Regions from separate parts of the Homo sapiens genome. Here region 2 is linked to region 1. Evidence: promoter capture Hi-C in human tissues and cell types (Jung and others, 2019). All regions are on one chromosome and are shown on one strand. Each heading gives the region's core, a stretch centred on a gene start or on the middle of the fragment in contact. The rest is flanking DNA. Distances are from core to core; before and after follow the strand shown.

The links. The method cuts DNA at HindIII sites, captures the fragments that hold promoters and counts their contacts. A contact is called where the count stands out against the background at its distance.
Region 2: a fragment that was not itself captured here is called in contact with the fragment with the promoter of NINL in region 1 in 4 of the 25 tissues and cell types used here (hippocampus, mesenchymal stem cells, spleen and 1 more).

Annotation. Positions count from the first base shown.
Region 1 is chr20:25,583,461-25,588,326 of GRCh38, reverse strand. It overlaps NINL (ninein like), which reads left to right and starts at 2,796. Exons shown (of 24, transcript NM_025176.6): 1 at 2,796-2,872. RefSeq lists a silencer at 2,732-2,861. The HindIII fragment of the contact is 43,094 bases long and covers 1-4,866 here.
Region 2 is chr20:25,519,058-25,523,718 of GRCh38, reverse strand. The region is part of intron 2 of NINL (ninein like); the gene reads left to right. Among named protein-coding and RNA genes, the nearest start is that of NINL, 64 kb to the left of the region's middle. The HindIII fragment of the contact is 4,223 bases long and covers 1-3,545 here.

The sequences.
Region 1 (4,866 bases), core at 1,547-4,046:
TGCTCAACTGGGCACGGTGCCTCATGCCTGCAATCTCAGTACTTTGGGGGGCCAAAGTGGGAGGATCATTTTAGCCCAGGAGTTCAAGACCAGCCTGGGCAACATAGACCCCATCTCTACAAAAAATTAGTAAGTTAGCCAGGTGTGGGGGTGCATCTGTAATGCAGCTATTTGGGAGGCTGAGGTGGGAGGATCACTTGAGCCCAGGAGATCAAGGCTGCAGTGAGCTGTGATCACACCACCACACTCCAGCCTGGGTAACAGACTGAGATCCTGTCTCAAGAAATAAAATAACAAATAAATTCAGTACACTCCTGTGCAATGGGTAATTTTTACATTTCTATTTTGCAAATGAAACTGAGATCACAGATGTTACATGACTGGGTGATCCACAGTCAAACAGCTAGTAAGTGGCATGATTCACATCTTCTGACTCCAAATTCATTCTCCAGCCAGTGAGTGGGAGCCCGTGCAGAGCATCAGGAGCACTGAAGAGAAGACATTCTTCACAATGGCAGCCCCCATGGCTCTGAGCACCCCTGGGAATCCAGGGTTATAAACTGGAGTCATCGGGGTCTTGGCTGCGCATCCCACAGGGACCACCTTTGCACGGTGTGTCCTGCCATTGTGCCCCACACTGGTTGGGACAGGTCATGGGCATAGCAAAAGGTATCTGGGCACATTCAGCAGGTCAGAGAAACCTCCCAGCCTAGAACACACTATGAGCGTCTCTGAACCACTCCCTGTGTTTGCCTTTTGCTCTGCATGGGGTTTAGCACTTGCAGGCACTTGGAAATTTCACTCGCCCTTGGAAACTCCGTTCCCCCATAGCCTGTCTTTCATCCTGCTTCCTTCTCACCCCATTTTGCCTCTGATCCTCACATCCTCTAAAGTGGAGTTCCTACAAAGTATATGCACCTTTCTCATGCTACAGTGTACTGTAGCTCATTTTGTAATTCTGATATAACTCTCTGACATTTTTGTATATTTATGTTTTTATTTTTATTTTTTGGAGACAGAGTCTTGCTCTGTCGCCCAAGCTGGAGTCTAGTGGCAAGATCTCAGCTCACTGCAACCTCCGACTCCTGGGTTCATGCAATTCTTGTGCCTCAGCCTCACGAGTAGCTGGGACTACAGGCGCGCGTTAACCACAACTGGCTAATTTTTTTGTGTTTCAGTAGACACTGGGTTTCACCATGTTGGCCACGCTGGTCTCGAACTCCTGTCCTCAGGCAATCTGCCCACAGTGGCCTCCCAAACTACTGGGATTACAGGCATGAGTCACCGTGCCTGGCTGTATTTACTTTTTTTTTTCTTTTTTTGAAATGGAGTCTCACTCTGTCGCCCAAGCTGGAGTGCAGTGGCTTGATAACCACAACCTCCGCCTCCCAGATTCAAGCGATTCTCCTGTCTCAGCCTCCTGAGTAGCTGGGATTACAGGCATATGCCATCACGCCCGGCTAATTTTGTATTTTTAGTAGAGACGGGGTTTCTCCATGTTGGTCAGGCTGGTCTTGAACTCCCGACCTCAGGTGATCCGCCTGCCTCAGCCCCCCAAAGTGCTGGGATGACAGGCATGAGCCACTATGCCCGGCCGGGTATTTACGTTTTTAAATTGTTTTCTGTGTAAACTCTATAAGGGCCAGGGATTTTTTGCACCGCTGTTGGCAGCCCCTAGGACAATGCCTGGCCCTAGTAGGTGTTCGATAAATATATACAGGTTGAATATCCCTTAACCGAGATGCTTGGCACCAGAAGCATTTAGGATTTCAGATTTTGGAATATTTGCATTATACCAATTGAACACCCCTAATCTGAAAATCCAAAATTAGAAATGCTCCAATGAGGCCAGGTGCGGTGGCTCATGCCAGTAATCCCAGCACTATGGGAGGCCAAGGTGGGAGGATCACTTGAGGCCAGAAATTCCAGACCAGCCTGGGCAACATGGTGAAGCCTCCTCTCTTAAAAAAATACAGGCCGGGCGCGGTGGCTCACGCCTGTAATCCCAGCACTTTGGGAGGCCGAGGCGGTGGATCCATCCCTTGAGCCTAGGAGTTCGAGACCAGCCTGGGCAACACAGTGAGACTCTGTGCTAAAAATACAAAAATTAGCGGACATGGTGGCAGATGCCTGCAGTCCCAGCTACTGGGGGTTGGGACGCTGAGGCGGGAGGATCGCCATAGCCGGGAAAGTCGAGGCTGTAGTGAGCCATGACCGCGCCACTGCATCCCAGGCTGGGCAGCAGAAGTGACAGCCTTTCTCAAAAGAAAAGAAAGTTAAAAGAAGAAAAAAGAAGTGCTCCAATGTGCATTTCCTTTGAGCATCAGGTCAGCGCTCAAAAACTTTCAGATTTTGAAGCATTTCGGATTTCAGATGTTTGGATTAGGGATGCTCAACCCGTATTGATTTAATATGCGGTGGAAACGTGACGACCTAGGTTTTAAGTCGCGGTTTCCTCAGTGGTGGGTTTGGGGTATTACCCCTGCCTGGCCGGCCTCCGGGCTTGTTTCCAGAAGATGCTACCCCGAGAGCTGCGAACCGCCAAGCTCCGCAGCGCGCAGGGCTCCGACAGGGACCAGCGAGGTCAGCTCCAAGGGTCACCCCAGGCTCCAAACTGGCCAGAGCCGCCCTGAGATTTGCGGAGGCCGCCTTGCCCCCACCCCGCCCCGCAATCCCGGACCCGACCCGCCCCCTCTCCCGTTCGCTCGCCCCGCCCCCTGTTCGCCCACTGCGCCGGGACACCGAGGGGGCGGTGCCTCGAGGCCGGGAGGAGTGTTGCGTCGCGGCCTCCAGACACAAAGAGCGGCCGGCGGTACGGGGGTGGTGCCGCGCTCCTGGCCCCGCGCGGGCGGACGGCGGAGGCGCCTCCCAGGTGAGCCGGCCCGGGCGTCCGGCGGGACATTCAGGCGGCTGGTGGGGTCGAGAGTCCGGGGCCGCCCCTGCGTCGCGACCCGCGCCTTAGTCACCAGACCCGGCTCCGGGAGCGCGGCCTCGGGTGCTCCTCGCGGTGCGGGGCGCAGACTCGGCGCATCTGCTGTGGTGCCTGCTCTTCCGGTCGCCCTCGAGGGCGGGGCGGGGGTCACGCCCTAAAATACAGCGCCCGCTGGGCCGAACGCTTGAAAACCCGGTTTCCCGACGGCGGCGGCGCGGGCGCCGTGCGAACGAGGGCCCGGGTCCAGCACAGCCCCAAGGCTCGGCCTGAGGCGGGCGGCCTTGGCCGGGGCCCCCCGTGGTAATGAGCTACGCGGTGCCCGCCGCCTGCCCAGCGCGGGCCGTTTCTCCTGACGCCGCCGGCGTCTGGTCGAGGCCCAGGATTCCCTCCTGCCAGTGTGGCTGCGGCCCCCCACGGAGCGGGACCCGCGTTCGTGGCGCTTGGGACGGTTGATTGAAAGGGTGTAGAAGTCTGTTGCGAATTTTATCTGTTGTACTCGTTTTGCAGATTCGCCCCTTTCCTCCCGCCTGTGCGCGCAGTCACACACACCATGTGGGAGTCTCTGATCGCGTTGGGTTCATAATCATCGATCGTGCCTGGGTACTGATGCCCCATTGTTAGGAGCTCTGTGTGGGGCTGTATGTTTGCACAGGACTCACGTGAGGAAGGGTGGCCACGTTTCTTTCTGCTCTGTGAGACTTAGGCCAAGCCCTGGAACTAGGGAGGAGGTTCAGGAAGAGACCCATGAAGCTGGCGGGGCCTTGGAGAAGGGCAAGTGATTTTCAAGGTCAGTAGTAAGAGGGGTCATGAGTAATGGTAAGTTTCTTAGCGGCCTTTGCTGTGACTTCTAGGTTTTTCACACTGGACTTAAAATACTTTTAAAAGCAGAGTTTTTGTTCTTCTTGTTGTTGTTCTTGTTGTTGTTGCTGTTTTTGAAACGAAGTTTCACTCTTGTTGCCCAGGCTGGAGTGCAATGGCGCCATCTCGGCTCACTGCAACCTCTGCCTCCCGGATTCAAGCGATTCTCCTGCCTCAGCCTCCCGAGTAGCTGGGATTACACGCCCAGCTAATTTTTTGTGTTTTTAGTGGAGATGGGGGTTTCACCATGTTGGCCAGGCTGGTCTCGAACTTCTGACCTTCAGGTGATCCAGCTGCCTCGGCCTCCCAAAGTTCTGGGATTACAGGCGTGAGCCACTGCACCCGGCCAAGTTTTTGTTTTGTTTTGTTTTTGTTTTTTAATTTTATTTTACTTTAAGTTCTGGGATACATGTGCAGAACGTTCTGGTTTGTTACATGGGTATACATGTGCCATGATGGTTTGCTGCACCTATCAACCCGTCATCTAGATTTTAAGCCCCACATACATTAGGTATTTGTCCTAATGCTCTCCCTCCTCTTGCCCCCCACCCGCCCCGACAGGTCCCGATGTGTGAGGTGTGTGATGTTCCCCTCCCTGTGTCCATGTGTTCTCATTGTCAACTCCCACTTATGAGTGAGAACATGCGGTGTTTGGTTTTCTGTTCTTGTGTTAGTTTGCTGAGAATGATGGCTTCCCACTTTATGCATGTCCCTGCAAAGGACATGAACTCATTCTTTTTTATGGCTACGTAGTATTCCATGGTGTATCTGTACCACATTTTCTTTATTCAGTCTATCCGTGATGGGCATTTGGGTTGGTTCCAAGTCTTTGCTATTGTAAATAGTGCTGCAATAAACATACACGTTTATGTGTCTTTATAGTAGAATGATTTATAGTCCTTTGGGTATATACCCAGTAATGGGATCACCGGGTCAAATGTTATTTCTGGTTCTAGATCCTTGAGGAATCGCCACACTGTCTTCCACAATGGTTGAACTAATTTACACTCCCACCAACAGTGTAAAAGCGTTCCTATTCCTCCACAGCCTCTCCAGCATCTGTTGTTTCCTTGCTT
Region 2 (4,661 bases), core at 185-2,684, 63 kb after region 1:
GTGAGCCAAGATCGCGCCATTGCACTCCAGCCTGGGCGACAGAGCAAGACTCCATCTCAAAAAAACAAGCAAACAAACAAATACTACATATCCAGTCCTTGTAGTAACTATCATATATGATATTATATAAACGTTACTGATACAGAAATCTCATAAAAATGAAACAGGCCAGGTGCGGTGGCTCACACATGTAATCCCAGCACTTTGGGAGGCCAATGTGAGAGGATTGCTTAAGTCTAGGAGTTCAAGATTAGCCTGGGCAACAGAGTGAGACCTCGTCTCTACAGAAGAATCTTAAAGGTAGCTGGATGTGGTGGCATGCACCTGTAATTCCAGCTACTTGTGAGGCTGAGCTGGGAGGATTGCTTGAGCCCAGGAGTTTGAGGCTGTAGTGAGGTGTGATTGTGTCACTGCACTCCAGCCTGGGCAACAGCATGAGACCTTGTCTCATATATATATATATATTCTCTCATATATATATATTCTCTCATATATATATATTCAGAAAAAGAAAGGATGGTCACATCTCTATTGAACAGGTATGGACCTTTTTCTTCTCACTATTTCCTAAACAATGCAGCCTAAAACTATTTACATAGTATTTACATTGTATTGGCTATTATAAGTAATCTAGAGCTAATTTAAAACATACAGGAGGATGAGCATAGGTTATATGCAAATACTACATTTTATACAAAGGACTTGAGTATCTGTGGAGTTTGGTATCTGCCAAGGGTCCCGGAACCAATCCCCCAGGGATACTGAGAGACAATTGTAATTTGAAGTTGAAAGTACCTCTAGATCACACATTGCAGCCTCTTTACTTTGTGATGAATGAGTCTAAGATCATGCAGAGATGGGATGGTGTATCTTATTGGTAAAATACCTGAATATATGGGGTTGCCGCTCGCCTTTTGTGAACTGTAAAGAAGGACACAAGAAAACAGACAAGTGTGGTCAAGATGGTATCAGACTGAAATGGCACCAGACTGGGCCATCTGATCCCACTGCTCTTTGATGGATGGAAGAAAGTCAGCTGGCAATTATTACCAACAACACAAAAGAATCTGTGATTAGAATGAGCAAAATTGCAATTTCATCATTCGTTTAGTATTTGACAACTATTTTTGAGGGACTTATTATGTGCTAGGCAACACCAGATGCTAGGGATGCAAGGAGGAAAGACTCACAGTTTCTATCTTCATGTGAAAGGACATGCATTCAAGGTATGCATTCTAGCATTGATTCAGATAGGAAAAATGTGGAAACAGCTTTTTCAGTATGGGATTGGTTAAATAATCCTGGTAGCTCCATTTGTTGAAATCTTTTTGCAGCCCTAAAAAAAGGAAGAAGCAGTTCAGATGTTCTGATAGTGGCAAGTGAGCTAACTCAGGCCAAGCTTTCAAGGAGGACTACTAGAAAAACTGAACAAAATAATAAAAACAAATATTTTGAAAACAGTAAAGAGCAAATAAATCAGTGAGAAATTGCCAGTCAAAAAATCTGCGATAGGCTTGGCATGGTGGCTCAGGTCTGTAATCCCAGTACTTTGGTAGGCCAAGGCAGGAGAATCACTTGAGCTCAGGAGTTCAAGACCAGTCTGGGCAACATAGCCAGACCTTGTCTCTACTAAAAATAAAAAACAATTAGCTGGGGGTGGTGGTACACACATGTAGACCCACCTACTCAGGAGGCCAAGGTGGAGGATCACTTGAGCTTGGGAGATTGAAGCTGCAGTGAGCTGTGATTGAGCCTGAGTGAGATCTTGTCTCAGAAACAAACAAAAAAAAAGTGTAGTAAATTAAGTACCCAGAGAGGTAAGCTTAGCACACAAAAGCCCATTTTCCCTGAGAATATTTTGTGATTTTAAGTAAGCAACTGAGAAATTGATCTGTGACCTTGGGGGCCTCAAAGAGCCCCAGAAACATATGTCAAAACCCGGAGTCATTCAAGGTAGAAACCCAGGGTTGACAAACCAACCCCAAATTTAAGGAAGAATCCTGAAGGGTAAGACCTGTAGGGTAAAGATGAATTGCAGTCAGTCATTATACTGCTTTGTGGTCTGGTCTTATATCCCTCAGTACACTAGATAATCTCAAATCCTGCACTTAGATTACTGGCACTGCATGGATAGGCACCTAGCCAAAGCAAACAATAAAAGTGCCACCATCCCAAATCTGAAATTTTTCCTAAATAATAGCCAAATACAATGACCAGCATATGATAAAGGAAAGCTGGGCAAACAAACAAGACAGATGAGCAAGAACTAGCAGAAACAACTGACAATGGAAGCACACCCGCAAATATGTGAGATATTAGAATTGTTAGACACAAAATATAAAACAACTATGGTTACTATATTAGAGATTTTTTTAGAGCTTAAAAAATATCTAAAAGAACTCTGAAAAGTGAAGTAACAAATCTGAACAATGAACCAAATAAAATGTCTAGAACTGAAAAGTATGATCACCAAAATTTAAAACTAAATAGAAGCATTTAACAGCAGATTAGACACAGCTGAAGAGACCATTCATTAACTGGAGTCATCCAGAATGCAGCATGAAGATATAAAAAGAGGTGGTACAGATGGAGTGAGAAAGTCCAGCATCCCTTTAACTGGAGTCCTGGGAGGAAACAAGTGAATGCTGGAGGGGCATTATGTGAAGAAGTAATAGCTAAAACATTTTCAGGACAGAAACATACTTCTTGGGATTCCAAAAGCCCATGGAATTCCAAGCAGGATAAAGAGACATCTATACCTGGCGTATTATGTGAAACTGAAGGAAAACAAAGCCAGAGAGAATATCTTAAAAACAGCCAGAAGTGGGTACACAGGATCTCTTTGTATTTTTCTTATAACTGCATATGGATCTATAATGATCTCAAGATGAAAAGTTTAATAATTTTAAAAGGGAAGCTAGAGAAAAGACATATCCTAAAAGTGAGCCATAGTTAGATTGACCGTTGCTTTCTGTAATGCAACAGTAGAAGTCAGAAGACGGTGGAAAGATATCTTCAATATGCTAGAAGAAAATAACTGTCAACCTGAATTTCATACCGAGTAAAAATATCCTTTAAGAATAAAGGTGAAAGAATGCCTCTGTGAGAAGGAGAGTTCTGGTTAGCAGTGAAAGGATACAGAGGCAAAGACACCCAATAAATATTTGTTGAGTCCCTACTATATGCCAAAAGTGAGCTCACATTTTAACTGGGGGGCAGAAAATAAGCAAATGCATGTATAATTTAATGTCAGATAGTAATACATGTGTGTCCCAGGCAGAGGTGTCTGCAAAGAAACAGCCACATTTTGCATTCAATGGCAGCAACAGAGGTGTGCTCATGCAAATTCTTGGTCAGATTTTGGAAGCATGCTTGGACCTATGGCCCCAAACCTTCTTCTCCAACACTTAGTGGTGATATTTTGACCAGCCTAATAGCCCTTCTGTTGATTTCTTTCTGTGTGACTTTCACTGAAGCGTACCTAGAGAAAAGAGCCATGTGTCCAAGTGTACAGGTCAGTGAATATTCCAAACTGAGCGCACCTGTGTAACCATCACACCCTTATCCCTCATCATGTCTCTTTTTGGTTCCTCTACTACCAAAGGTCAACCACTGCCTGGACACCAACATCAGAGATTTTTTTTTCCTGTTTCTGAATTTTAAATTCTGCATTTTAATACACAATACATACTCTCTGGCCTTTTTTTTTTTTTTTTTTTTTTTTTTTTTGAGACGGGGTCTCACTTCGTCACCCAGGCATGATCTTGGCTCACTGTAGCCTCGACCTCCTGGGCTTAAGCAATCCTCCTGCCTCAGCCCCCCAGGTAGCTGGGTCTACAGGCACATGCCGCCATGCCCGGCTAATTACTGTATTTTTTTTCACCATGTTGCCCAGGCTGGTTTCCAACTCCTGAGCTCAAGCAATCACCCTGCCTCTGCCTCCCGAAGTGCTGGGATTACAGGCAAGAGCCACCGCACCCGGCCATTCTCTGGCTTCTTTACTCCATAGTATGTCTCTGAGATACATTCGTGTTACTGTGTCTATTAGTGGTTTGTTCTTTTTCATTGTCAGGTATTTCATTGTATGACTATGCCTGTATCAATTTGTTTATCCATTCTGTTTAAATGGACAGCAGAGTCATTTCCACTATTCTAAAAGGATAATTTATAAGTTATAAATTATTTCTTTGTAAAAAAAGAATTAATGTAAAATAAAAACATGTTAGACAAAATATTTGGCACTGGCATATTCAAGAAAAACAAAGTTCTAAAGATGTATTTTAAATAGTTGGAAAATTATTCCAGATGGAAAGTCAGAATTGCAAGAAGAAATGAAAAACAGAATAACTATGGGATAATTCTAAAATGAACATTATACAAAACCAAAAATAGTATTTTGTGAGGGTTTAAAACATATAAAATACATGATAACAAAGGCATTGAAGTCAGGAGTGTGGTAACTGGAGCTAATATATTTCACTGGCTTTGTATTGTCATAGAAGACAGTAAAAGTATTATTAATACTCAACTTTGGTAAGCTAAGAATGGATGTTGTAATTTTAGGGTAATCAGTACAAAAGTGGAAATAGACTATATAACTTCCTTTTTTTTTTTTTTTTTTTGAGACAGAGTCTCGCTCTGTTGCCTAGGCTGGAGTGCAA